Linked DNA regions of Homo sapiens: all the other regions are linked to region 1. The links are contacts of gene promoters, found by promoter capture Hi-C in blood cells and fetal thymus (Javierre and others, 2016). All regions are on one chromosome and are shown on one strand. The core of a region is centred on a gene start or on the middle of the fragment in contact, and the rest is flanking DNA. Distances in the headings are between cores, read along the strand shown.

The links. The method cuts DNA at HindIII sites, captures the fragments that hold promoters and counts their contacts. A CHiCAGO score of 5 or more calls a contact.
Region 2: a contact is called between the fragment with the promoter of RAB20 here and the fragment with the promoter of LIG4 in region 1, in 2 of 17 cell types (naive CD8 T cells and monocytes). The highest score is 6.4, in naive CD8 T cells.
Region 3: a fragment that was not itself captured here is called in contact with the fragment with the promoter of LIG4 in region 1 in 1 of 17 cell types (fetal thymus); the score reaches 5.2 in fetal thymus.

What each region holds. Positions count from the first base shown.
Region 1 is chr13:108,212,767-108,216,960 of GRCh38, forward strand. It overlaps LIG4 (DNA ligase 4), which reads right to left and starts at 2,770. Exons shown (of 3, transcript NM_206937.2): 1 at 2,718-2,770; 2 at 1,772-1,844. RefSeq lists an enhancer at 2,695-2,989 and a silencer at 2,833-2,972. The HindIII fragment of the contact is 5,824 bases long and covers 1,235-4,194 here.
Region 2 is chr13:110,558,658-110,562,971 of GRCh38, forward strand. RAB20 (RAB20, member RAS oncogene family) reads right to left here and starts at 3,065. Exons shown (of 2, transcript NM_017817.3): 1 at 2,691-3,065. The coding sequence starts at 2,862. RefSeq lists silencers at 2,625-2,684, 2,664-2,853, 2,745-3,194. The HindIII fragment of the contact is 2,254 bases long and covers 1,369-3,622 here.
Region 3 is chr13:110,715,252-110,719,794 of GRCh38, forward strand. ING1 (inhibitor of growth family member 1) reads left to right here. Exons shown (of 2, transcript NM_198219.3): 2 at 3,978-4,543. Among named protein-coding and RNA genes, the nearest start is that of ING1, 3.8 kb to the left of the region's middle. RefSeq lists enhancers at 256-425, 603-1,296, 1,166-1,255, 4,019-4,543 and silencers at 516-795, 826-875. The HindIII fragment of the contact is 364 bases long and covers 1,777-2,140 here.

The DNA of each region.
Region 1 (4,194 bases), core at 1,520-4,019:
CTATACTGTCAGTATCTAGAGGCCAGGAATTGTGCTGTAATTTGTGCTCTAGTGGCAGACATGTAGGAGGTTTGCTGAATGAATTACTGAACACCTAGAGTTGACTCCTGGATAAGCACACTAGGGAAAGCTATGGTCTGGTTACATACCACACACTCACACACGCACGCAGACACACAGTGGGTGAGATTCAGTTTGGTTAAAAATATTCAGTAGCTCTGACTGCCCTGGCAATGGTTTACAACAGCCATTTGGTGGCCTATAGAGAAAAAAGGTGCACTTCTCAGTCTAATTTCTGACAAAGGAAACCCAGCTTCTACTGAGTGGGTTAGATCGAGGGATAAACGCATGACAGACCACTTTCCTGAAACTTTTATCTTTGAATATACTGTTGTTTCCTCTCTCTGAATCTGGTTTGCATAACTGACTGTAACACCTGGTTATGTATGTTCACTGCCCTATCTCCCAAAATTTGCTCCCTCAAGGGAGTAAACAGGGTACACAATGCTATATCTACAATTTCTATATAAACTATGTAAAATAAAGTAGGTTAACTAATATTTCTTTAATATTCAAATATTGGTATATAGTTTCTACAGATATATCTATAGATTCTACATGGTCTCAAAGTTAAAGTTTCGCTCAACAAATCCCAGGCAAGGACTTAAATTACTTTATAATGACAAAATGTAGGTAATGGTGTGGATACACATGTATCCTAAAATGGCTACGCCTATAACAAGGATTCCAAAATTGCCATAAACTAGTCGTAAGTATTTTTGCTCATTACAACGGCATAAAAAGTCAAAGATTAGGACTTCCATTCATTTTTACATGCTAATTTTATTTTTTGGATTCTGAGGATTTTAGCTGATTCATTCCATTTGCAGTAAGACAAATGAGGAGGTTCCTGGTTAGGGCTCAGGTTTTAGACTCTAATAAATCTGAGTTCAAATGTGGATGGTAACATTTAACAGCTGTGTGATACTGGGCAATTACTTAATTTCTCTAAGCTTCAGTTTCCTAAAGTATAAAATGGGGTTAAAAACTATGTAGAAATTAGAATGAAGATAAAAATCAGATAATCTACAAAATGTGCTTTAAAAAGTAGTAAGTCTTGATAATTTTAATACTATAATGCTTGCTGATCCAAGCAACATTTAAAATATAAATATTGCAAAATATTAACGAGATAAAAAGGTGGGAAGAAGCTTCACTCTTTAACAATAAGCAAAGCTTTCAGGAGAATGAATGCAAGCAATTAGTACACAATAACGATTCATCATTCATTCAGTTCTGACTAAATTGTCCTGAAGTGACACATGAAAATAAACCGGCAGGTTTTATTCAGTGACTATGGAAGGTGATTAAGTGCTATGCTATTGCACTTAAAAAAGAGAGAGGAAAAAAAGGAGTAAGTGACGAATGCAACTGAAGTATCCTTCATGCAACCCTTGACAAGCTGTGTTTCCCTAGGAAACAAAGGGTTTACAGCTGCCTATCTTCCACAGCACTTAGTGACAATTTGGGACAATCTCAGCAAAAAGAAATGAGCAGACAAAGACGCTAGAAGGGCTTTGGGATCCCAAAAGTTAATGAAAGACCAAGTGTAAGAAGAGAAATAAAGTAATTCCCTCCAAGCCTAAAGTCTCTCCCGCTCCAATGCCCCCTGTACCCTCTCGGAAAATGGAAAATCCCTAAGGAGTCTACATCATTCCTCTGCCCGTTCCCCCTACTCTCCCCCAACCCTTCACGGATTCCCAGTGAATACCTGGCCTCGGGCAAGCTCCGTTACCTCTGTGAACCAGAGAATCCCAGCTGTAAAATGAGATCTTGATGGTTTCCTGCGGGGTTGCCATGAGAAAGAATCAACATGTACGCAGGTAAAGCAGGCAATACAGTTCCAGGGAGTCAAAAACGGGAGAAATCGTCCCACGACCTGGGGCTTGGGTCTAGATGAAGAGCACAGCATCAGGAGGCCAGGCTTCTAATGCGGCGCAGTCTACAGCGCTGTGGACTCGGCAACTCCCATCACCTGCCGCTGCACAAACACCCTGCTTGCTGCCCCCATAGACCGACCCCCGCCTGACGCCTCCCAGACCCCCCCACCTGACGCCCCTCAGGCCCCCCGCCTGACGTCCCAGACACCCCCACGACCGGATCCCCCAGACCCCCAATCTGACGCCCCACTTCCCCTACTTGACTCCCCACACATCCCCCGCCTGACGACCCCCCGACCCCCGCCTGACGTCCCAGACACCACCCATCTGATCCCCCAGACCCCCAATCTGACGCCCCACACCCCCCACTTGACTCTCCACACACCCCACACCTGCCACCCCACGTAAACCCCGCCTGACACCTCACAGACCCTAACCTGACGCCCCACAGACCTCCCCCGCCTCCTGCCGCCACACACACCCCAAACCCCGCCCCGAACACCCCCCACCTGCCGCCCCACAGATTCCCCCCTCTGACGCCCCACAGACCCCCAACGTGACGCCCTACAGACCCCAACCTGACGTCCCACAGATACCCCGCCTGACGCCCCACAGACCTTCCCCCGGTCTGTTGCCCCACAGACTTCTCGCCGCCTGCTGGACCACACCTTCCACTTGACTCCCCCCACACCGTCAATCTGCCACCCCCCACCCCCCCCACCCCAACCCCCCCCAACCTCCCAACCGCCCCCACCTGCCACCCCACACCCTTCCCACCTGACGTCAAGCCTGAAGCTCAGCCGCTAAGCCGGAAGCTGGCGCCAGAAGATGCCGGTTCCGCCAGCTGCTCGCCGCGCAGGCGCAGGGGAGACCCGGGGCCTTGCAGTCACCGGGCTCAAGCACGCCGGCGCAGCCAGGCTCGCGATGGGAGGTGGGGGGGCCGGCAGCCCCGTGGGGCTGCGGAGGCGGGACCTGCAGGATCCTGGTTAGGGTCTTGAGTACACACGGCTCCTATTGGCCTCGGCAGCAGATGCTCTCTGCAAGCAGTTGATCCACACGCCAGTGGATTTTGTCTCGAGGGAGACCTAAGATCACTTTGTGCTCTGGCTAGTGATAGCCTCTAATTCTTGTTCTCTGTACGTAAAACAGTGGTAACTATACTGATTTCGCTGGTTGTGAAAACTCCCAAGAGAGAACAGGACATCCTCCCAACTCAAAACGTTGGTTGTTTCATTTAAACTTTTAAAAAATAGGCTTTTGCAAACTATATAGAGCTGTTTTTTTTTTTAAATGATGTTTGCTACTGTGGTCTCAGTTCTCTTAATACAGAAATAATACATAACAATACATAACTTACAATATAGAAATAAACCGTTGCATGACCAGAAATCAACTATGGACTCTTCTAGTATCTGTTTAAGGTTTAAAAATAAAGTTATTTAACAAACCTTTATTGAGCACCTATTATTATATAGTAATGGTGCTAGATATTCAGGGTGGAGAGATTATAAACAACCCCAGTTTTTGTGTTCCAGGAGCTGTTGGTTTCCACCGAATTTTTGCTGTGGTCAGTCCTCTTTCGCCATGGAGAAGTGAGAAGTTATTCATAAAGAGGGGTGGAAACAACTTTTAGAACTATTTTATTTTAGCATAAAATATTGCTTTACAATAAAATAAATTTTGCTGCAGTGGGCCCTGATAAAACATATTAGAGCTGTTAAGTGCCCTTAGAGGTTGTGTAATGTATAAAAACCTCCTTTTTCAAAACTGACACATTTCATTCAGTGCTAGTTTGTAGCGGAGGTTCCGTCTAGCCCAAGAACATTCAGTTATTTACTTCGTATGTCTAATTGACCTAATATGCCTGAATATCTAAAATCATCTGTGATGTTGTAAAGTCTCATGATATTGTTTTGTGAGTATCTGCTCTTCAATTTAGTTATCAATTTATTTTGGAGGAAAAATGAATAGTGTTAAGGTAGAGGAGCCTCCACTTGCCCATCTTAGGAGAGGGTACCTATCCGTGTACATTTGTAGCTTGTTCAACCTCTACTGAGCTCCTACAATGTCAGAAGCTGGACTTTGTATTAGTTACATGAGAAGAACCATGAATTATGAAACCAGGCAAACTCCAAATTGATTCAAAGCCCAGTCTCCATTTCATCATGTTATTTTAGTTGATTGGTTCAAAGACAATCAAGGGTTTTTTTCACTAAGTATCTTCTAGAGTTGCCATGATTATTAATTTATTTAT
Region 2 (4,314 bases), core at 1,815-4,314, 2.3 Mb after region 1:
AGGCATGAGCCACCGCGCAGCCCTGTCTTCCCATCTGTTTTTTTTTTTTTTTTTTTTTTTGAGACAGAGTCTCGCTCTGTCACCGGGTTGGAGTGCAGTGGCACAATCTTGGCTCACTGCAACCTCTGCCTCCTGGTTCAAGCGATTCTCCTGCCTCAGCCTCCCGAGTAGCTGGGACTACAGGTGTGCGCCACCACGCCCTGCTAACTTTTGTATGTTTAGTAGAGATGGGGTTTCACCATGTTAGCCAGGATGGTCTTGATCTCTTGACCTCGTGATCCACCCACCTCAGCCTCCCAAAGTGCTGGGATTACAGGCATGAGCCACCACGCCTGGCCCCATCTTTAACATGCAAATAATCACACCTCCCTCTGGAGGACTGTTGTGTCAATGGAATAGGGTAATGTACTTCTGCCCTGCCAACTCTCTTCCCCCTCTTCAGCTCCATCCACTGCCTGCCTTGCAGGCTACAAGCAGCCAGGCATTGGGTGTACACTGACCCCCATGCAATCGTTTTTACTATTAAACATCCTGTCGCCCTCTGCACACCTGCACCCCCACCCCAGCCCACCCTGCCTTGTGTGGCTAAAAGCAACTTTCAAAATGGTTCCTCCTCCGGCTGGTCCTTACCATTCTGCCTCGGTTATGACAATTACAACAAAAACAACTTGAAAAGCAATGTCTGTGGGGTGGAGAGAAAGTTTAGGAGCTCAGCAAAAGAAGGAAAAGAACAGGGTCCCCTAAATGTTAAATTCTGAATTTCCAACAATTATAGAAAAGGTATCTGTTCCTACCTCTCTTTTCCCTTCAAGTACCCGGTCAGGCCACAGGCCACCGAGGAGGCAGGCAAGGGTGCCCTGTGTCCCTGCCAACTCTGGGCAAGGGCCGCCTGAGTGTGTACACAGGAAGTCAGGAATGTGGAGAAGGGGCCTGGCCACTCTCTGTTCTGAGGAGCTCTAGTAATTCACCCTTAGGATCTTTCGAACAAGCAGCAGCAGCCTCGGATGCCAGGAAATGAGCTGCTGCCCCCCAGTAACGCTTCAAGACATCTGGGGCGTCACATCAGCACAACTGCAAAATCTCTGGTGATCAGGATTCCGGCTGCATCACGTCCTTGGTGCTGAAGAAGCAAGAGGCCAGTGGAAACGAAACTGCTGCTTCATTCCCTCCGATGCAGGGGCCGTTCCAGCACTGCAGGGCAGCTCTTGTTCCAGAAACACACCGTGTGTTAAGAGTCTGCCTCCAACGGTGGCCACTACAGGGGTTTCGGTTAGGGTCCCCCAATAACACTCCTGCATTAACCTTGCTACTTGTAAACCAAGGGCAGCAGTAAATCCCAGCCAACCAGCAAAAGCAGCAGAGGGGCAAAGCTTTGTACAAAACCAAATTGGGTTCAATTTGACTTTGTACAGAAGCAAATTGGGTTCGTGAATTGGGTTCGATTTGACTTCTAGAGCGTGTGTTCCATCGTTACCAAATGCTCAGTGTGAGGGAGTCAGCTCAGTAAACCTCATCCTGCAGCCTGAGGCAGAAGACAGAGTTGGAGCAAAGATCAGGGAAATGCACCTCTTTACCTGGGGGACATTGTTTTCACAAGATGATTGCCAATAAATTAGTCACGATGTTAACTGGGATAATAATAAAAAAGCATCAAAGAAGGCAAAAGGGAGGGGGAGAACTGGAAGTACCTCTGTGAGCTTCGTTAATTCAGTTTTAAAGAGAGAATTCATTATCATCTTGTTTATTCAGCATACTGATACACCCAAGATGGCAATTTAAGAATTCTGGACGGGGCCTTTGGGTATATGACTTTTTAAGATGCTAACATAAAAGAAGTCAGAACTTTCAGAGTTTCAGGCTTCTAAAAACTCACACTCATTGAAAATGTGTCACACTATTTCCAGTTTCTTCATTCACTTACAATATCTTATTCTTTTGTAAGGAGAAGGAAATATATTCCATTGCAATGCTACAATCACCAGTGTTATTTTCCAAAGTTAAACAGAAAGCCTGAATTGAGATCCTCTAAGTTGTACTTTTGAAAAGTCACAAATACTACACAATAAAAATAACTCATTACCTATCTTAAAAATGCTTCCACCGGAAGTCACTCCAACCCAAACCCATATGACGTATCTGAGCCAAGATCAAGCAGAAGATTAACTGTAAAAGGCAGATATGCTCCGGGCTAAGAGGTCCGGAGGCTCCAGTTTTATTTCCTCTCTCCTGACTAAACCCAACAGGGGGGAACACTCTGTGCCTCATTTTACTTTTTCTTAGAAAGGGGCTAATAACACCAGCTCTGCTCACCCCTCAAGTGAATCTCAAAGGATATCATGTTCCTACGGGTACGTGAAAACTGAAAATACCTAACAAAGCAGCCACAGAGGAGCGTCTCTGGTTCCCAGGGCGGCAGAGCAGGAACGCGGGGCTCGGGAGCAAAGGCAGCTTAGGTACACAAATGACCAGCGGGTTCTCTGCAACTTGGGTTGTCCCTGAGGTCACTGAGTGGCTGAGAGGCAGCGCTCAGCCCAACCAGCAAGGGAGGACGAGTGGGAAACCCCGAGAAGGAGGCATTTGCTGTCCGAGGCCGGGACCCTGTGCGCGGCCGGGTGCCCTGCTGGAAGCCCCGCGCCCCCCGTCCCCGGCGGAGCCCCAGGGCGGTGTGGCTCATGCGGCGCCGGCCTCACCTGCGGTGTCCCAGATGGAGATGTTGTAGGAGCGCCACTGCTTCAGGTAGAAGGCGCCGCCCACCGTGCTGACCGTGTCCGGGAAGCGCCGCTCCATATACCGCTGCAGCAGCGACGTCTTCCCCACGTTCATGTCCCCCAGGAGCACGATCTTGCTGTCGGGCTTCCTCATCTTCCCGTAAGAACCCCCAGCGCCCCCGCGCCCTCTCCCCGAGGCTGGCCGGCTCGTGCGCCCTGGGCGCAGCTGGAGGAGCGGACCCCGGACTCGCCGGGACCCGGATTCTCGTGAACGCTCCGGGACCTTCGCCTCCGGACGCCCGGGAGCTCAAGAGAGGAAGCGCGTGTGCGCGCCCGGGAAGGAGCTGGGTGCAGAGCACGGAGCCCACGTCGGGGGCCCGGACCGCGGCGGCCTCGCCTCGCCCCGCCCCCGCCCCCGCCCCCGGGCCCTTTCACCGCCGCGGCCCCGCCCTATCCTCCTCCGCCCACCGCCCCCGTCCCGCCCCTGCTGGACCTCGCCGTTTCGCAAGCATCCGAGTTCTCCAGCCGAGGCTCGGGACTGCTGCAGGGTGGAAAATGAAAGTTCTGAGAGCACCTTCCGCCCCTCCGCTTCTGCACAGCCGGGGCTGCGGTGCGAGGAGCTTGGCCGCGGGGCCCGAACGAGGCGAAGGGGCCGGGGCCCTTGGGGAACCCCCTTCTCTCTTCCACTCTCCCTTAGGTAAAACCCGTGTTCCTCTCACGCTCGACCCAGCGCCTTTCCAGCTGCGGTCGATTTGCTTCTCCGCGTGTAAGTACAGCCACCCTCAAGGTCATTGAAAAAGTTTGCTTTAAATGAGCGTCTGCGGAACTCGTCCTGAGGCTCTCACTGTTACAGATTAGAGATGGGGGCGCTTTCTAGTGGAGGATTTTGCTTTTGCTCTTCTACTTTTGCAAGAAGCTTTTTGTCCTGAAAAGTGGACAGTCATCTCCATTTATAGCTTGGAATGAAAATTTGACTATGGAAGTTGCAGTCGCTACTTGAGAAATATTTCCTCCTTCTTTTTTTTTTTTTTTTTTTATTTTTGACACGGAGTTTTGCTGTTGTTGCCCAAGCTGGAGAGCAGTGCGCGATCTCGGCTCACTGCAACCTCCGCCTTCCGGTTTCAAGCGATTCTCCTGCCTCAGCCTCCCGAGTAGGCGGGATTACAGGTATGTGCCACCATGCCCGGCTAATTTTTGTATTTTTAGTAGACACGGGGTTTCACCATGTTGGCCAGGCTGGTCTCGAACTCCTGACCTCGTGATCCACCCGCTTCGGCCTCCCAGGTCCTCCTTCCGTTTTAAAGGATAAACCTTGAAATGCTTTTAAAATATGCAGCGTGTAGAATTTGGTTAGTTGGTTGGTTGGGGTTTTTTAGAGAAAATGAGAGGTAGAATGGACTCTAAGTTAAACCCTGGGGGACAGTGTCACTCTGGCCGCTGGCCTGGCTGGGAAAGGCGATGAGACCCTGAGCAGGTTAAAACCCGTGTCCTGAAGGTGTCCTGTAAAGGGAAATAGGCCCGTTGCCTCCTTCGTAGGTGCCCTGAGACTCCGACAAGGCAGGAATGCCAAGGTATTTCGTACCTGCTCAGCCCTGGCATGTCAGGT
Region 3 (4,543 bases), core at 709-3,208, 2.5 Mb after region 1:
CAGTAGGGAAACGGAAGAGTTGGGTGGGGGCAAAAAAAAAAATTGACCGCTATCCCCGAAAGTACTAGACGCCTCTGCCGGGAAGGCGCCCCTGCGCGTTCTATCCGAGACGTAGCTTCGCAGCGAATTTTATAGGAACTTCATTAGCATATTATGGAACGTCCCGCCTCAGCCCCCCAGTAGTTGGCTGTGATGTCCTTCGTGGAATGTCCTTATCATTCCCCTGCGGAACGATTGGTCGCTGAGGCGGATGAAGGCGGGCCTAGCGCAATAACTGGTATGGGTCTGTGTTTCCGCTGTCTTCTTTTTTCTTTTTCGGGGAGGAGCGGGGTGGAGGGTGGACGAGTTGATTTGAACGTCTTCGGGTCGCTCGGCCTCCAGCCTTGGATTGGTTCTTCTCGCTGCTGGGGCGGGCCGTGCTCTTCCGCCCTGCGGTGTGGTTGGTTCTCCTCCTGGCCTCCGCCCTCCAAATCGGCGATTCCCATAGGCGGCGGCTCTCGGGGTGCGGGGCGAGTCTCCCGCTGGCCTCCTCCCCATTGGCTGGAGGCCTGGCGGGTGTCGCCCCGGCCCCTCTCCCCGCTCAGCCCGGCCACTTTCGGGCGCGGATTTATAGCAGTAGCAGTGATCCCGGGCCTGTGGGCTCGGGGCCGGGGCTGCAGTTCGGACCGCCTCCCGCGACCCGCGGGGCCGGCTCGGAGACAGTTTCAGGCCGCATCTCTGCTGACCCGAGGGTGGGGCCGCGCGTGGCCGTGGAAACGTGAGTGACTGGGGCTGCGTCCACGAGGGGGACCCTCGGCGCAGAAACTTTTCTGGAAGGTGCTGTCCTCGGGCCGGACGGGCCCCGTGGGGTGACCCTGGGGCTCCGGACGGAAGGAAGGCAGGGGCTGAGACCACTTTGATCGTTCGACGATAGAAAAAAGTAGCGCGGGGCGGGGTGCAGGGTTCCAGCTGTCCAGACAGCAAAGTTCATGGAGCCACTTTGTCCTCCTGTCGTTGCTGGGGAGAGCCTGGCTTGCTGCTTGCTTCATGTTCACCTAGGGTGATGAACTTTTTGGCTTCAGGAAAGATCACAGTCCTGCCCCCCCGGGAGTACTGGAGCGGCGCAGCTGGGAGCGCCGAGAAGCGAGCGAATCTGTCGCAAGGGTCACAGCTCCTTGGACTTCGGTGTAAATGCTGAGCTCTGCCGCGTAGTTCTGAAAGACTTCCACAGACCTACTCTGTAGGAAGTCAAACGTCTTTTGCTTAGTAGGCATCAGTTGTATGTTAATTCATAAACTTGGATTATAATTAGTTTGTCGATTTAAAATGGTGTTTGAGGTTGCTTGAATTATTTTTCAAACATTATCATAAAAATACCCACCCACCCCCTGGGAAGTTCGCTTCATAAAGAACTTCAGTGCAACCCGTATGTAAAATTAAAATACATTTAAAATAATTGGACAAACCAATTTAAATGTTGCTACAACCCCATTTAATCTGTAAATTGCATGTGCTGCTGCTTTCCATGGTAATGTTGGTGTGGAATATGTTTGGAAAAAAGGCAGTAGTGTCTGAAGCTGAGTTGCTGGCATTGAAAAAGCAGAGTGTCTGGAAGGATGGCTTCCTATTTAGCAGTGGTGTTGTTCCTGTTTATAAATATTTGTACTTAGTGGCTTTGTTGATAAAATACTTTGCTTGGAGTATCAAAGAAATATTAGGTAACAGAAATACTTCTTGGTAATTTTGCGATGGGATATCTGTTTCTCTTGCCCACAAATTAGGCTTCACCTGGATGGAAGCTTGCTTGTGATGTAAAATAACTTCTGTGTTATTAAATTTTAAATTTATATGATACAGTTTTCTGTGAAATGACAATATTGTCTTTAGAACTTTGATTACTGATGAAAAGAAGTGATACCATTTTGTAACCCTAAATCCATTTAAAAATAAATGGTACACATATTTTAACATTATGATAAATAAGTTGAATAAATTGGTATTACTTGGATACGTTGAACACAGCTATTTATTTTTATAATTAATTACTATATGAGACTAGGGCTTTCCTCCTGGTGGCAGGCAGCCTGCATTGTTCCTCTAGGAGTCTTCAAAGCTGTCTTTAGTTTGAGAATATACTCTGGAAAATATTACCATTTAGAGAAGCTTCAGCGTTGGCCTGAGTTCTTATGTTTACTCTAGTGTTAGGTATATGTCTTATAACTATTTGGAGATAAGATCTGGAAAGGAAGGGGGTAACATTTTAGACAATCCCTCCCACTCTCAGCCCCTCCCCTAGTTTACAAGTAGTATTGTTGGCCAGGCACGGTGGCTCACTCCTGTAATCCCAGCACCATGGGAGACCGAGGCGGGCGGATCACCTGAGGTCGAGAGTTGGGAGACCAGCCTGTCCAACATGGAGACACCCTGTCTCTACTGAAAATACAGAATTAGCCGGGCGTGGTATTACATGCCTGTAATCCCAGCTACTCGGGAGGCTGAGGCAGGAGAATCGCTTGAACCTGGGAGGCAGGTTGCAGTGAGCTGAGATCGCGCCATTGCACTCCAGCCTGGGCAACAAGAGTGAAACTCCGTTTCAACAACAACAAAAAAAGGTAGTATTGTTGCCTTGTTTAAAGAGACTGCAAAAAGGTTTTAGGAGAATAATCTGGTACTGTTTAATTTAATGGTTACTGTTTGAGGAAAAAGAACTCTGGAATTTCTGTGTATTTAAGTAGCCTTTTTAGCAAGGCTGTTTACTTCAACTAGATTTTTTAATAGCTTTTGTTTCTTGAGAAATTGCCTAATTACACTTGCCAAATTACACTTTAAAATCATATACACTGTCCTCTAACATGCCCAGGAAGGTTTACATTTAAATACTGAAGAGGTTTTCTTTTGTTTTTGATAACATTTTAAAGTCCATTGACTTTAACAGATGTGAAGATGTTTTTGTTTAAGCAGTAGATGCAAAAGTAAAACCTACCAGCTTCGCTTTAAAGCAAGGCTAGTGCATTCACTGCAGTTAAAAAATAATAATAATAGCCCATCACAGTGGTGCTTCTGTAGTCCCAGCTACTCAGGAGGCTGAGGTGGGAGGGTCCCTTGAACCTGGGAGGTCGAGGCTGCAGTGAGCCGAGATTGCACCACTGCACTCCAGCCTGGGCGACAGAGACGGACCTTGTCTCCAAAATAATAACAAGTCGTAATAATAATAAAGCAAAGCTAGGTTTTCTGGATTATTGTGGCAGAACTGTTCTTGCTGTCACTAATACAGAGGGATAACATGCTAGAATAAATGTGGGGACTGAAACTGAGGACCTAAGTCACAAAGTATCCTGGACCTTTACTGTTAACCCGGTTCTTTAAATCATAGAGAGCTATTATATAAATTTATACACATTCTCTCATTTAACAGGGTATTCTAGATGTTGGTATATTAAAATAAAGAAAATAAAGACCTTTTTTATTTGAAATATTCAAATAATTTATAATATATTTTATTAATGTTTGTATATTGTGTATAAATGTAATAAATACCATGTTTATATAATGTTATATGTATATTAATAATTGTATTCAAATAGAAACATTTGAGTAAAAATGATGGCAGTATAGACATAGTCATTAATAGAAAGTATTAATAAATGTTGGGTCCCGAGCACTGCACCTCATTTAAACGTTTCCTCTTAATGGCTTCGGGCGTTGTCACCCGTGCGTGCCTGGGAACTGTTCTCAGGTTCCCTGGGGTGGCTGGAGCGGCTCCTGCCGCTGTGGAAGCTGGGCCGGCATTTGTGTTGTGTTGTGTTGTGTTGTGTTGTGTTGTGGTTAGCACAGGAACAGATAGGCCCGGGAGAGCCTGTGGCTGGTGGGCTTTGTTCTGGGCAAGCCGTGCGCTGGCCCCTAGGCTCCCTGCCAGCCCTCTCCGTAGACCCGTCCGGGGCCGTGTGGGTTGTCCCGGTGTCCTGCTCGCGAGTGACGCCTGTCCTTCTTGCCCCCAGAGATCCTGAAGGAGCTAGACGAGTGCTACGAGCGCTTCAGTCGCGAGACAGACGGGGCGCAGAAGCGGCGGATGCTGCACTGTGTGCAGCGCGCGCTGATCCGCAGCCAGGAGCTGGGCGACGAGAAGATCCAGATCGTGAGCCAGATGGTGGAGCTGGTGGAGAACCGCACGCGGCAGGTGGACAGCCACGTGGAGCTGTTCGAGGCGCAGCAGGAGCTGGGCGACACAGCGGGCAACAGCGGCAAGGCTGGCGCGGACAGGCCCAAAGGCGAGGCGGCAGCGCAGGCTGACAAGCCCAACAGCAAGCGCTCACGGCGGCAGCGCAACAACGAGAACCGTGAGAACGCGTCCAGCAACCACGACCACGACGACGGCGCCTCGGGCACACCCAAGGAGAAGAAGGCCAAGACCTCCAAGAAGAAGAAGCGCTCCAAGGCCAAGGCGGAGCGAGAGGCGTCCCCTGCCGACCTCCCCATCGACCCCAACGAACCCACGTACTGTCTGTGCAACCAGGTCTCCTATGGGGAGATGATCGGCTGCGACAACGACGAGTGCCCCATCGAG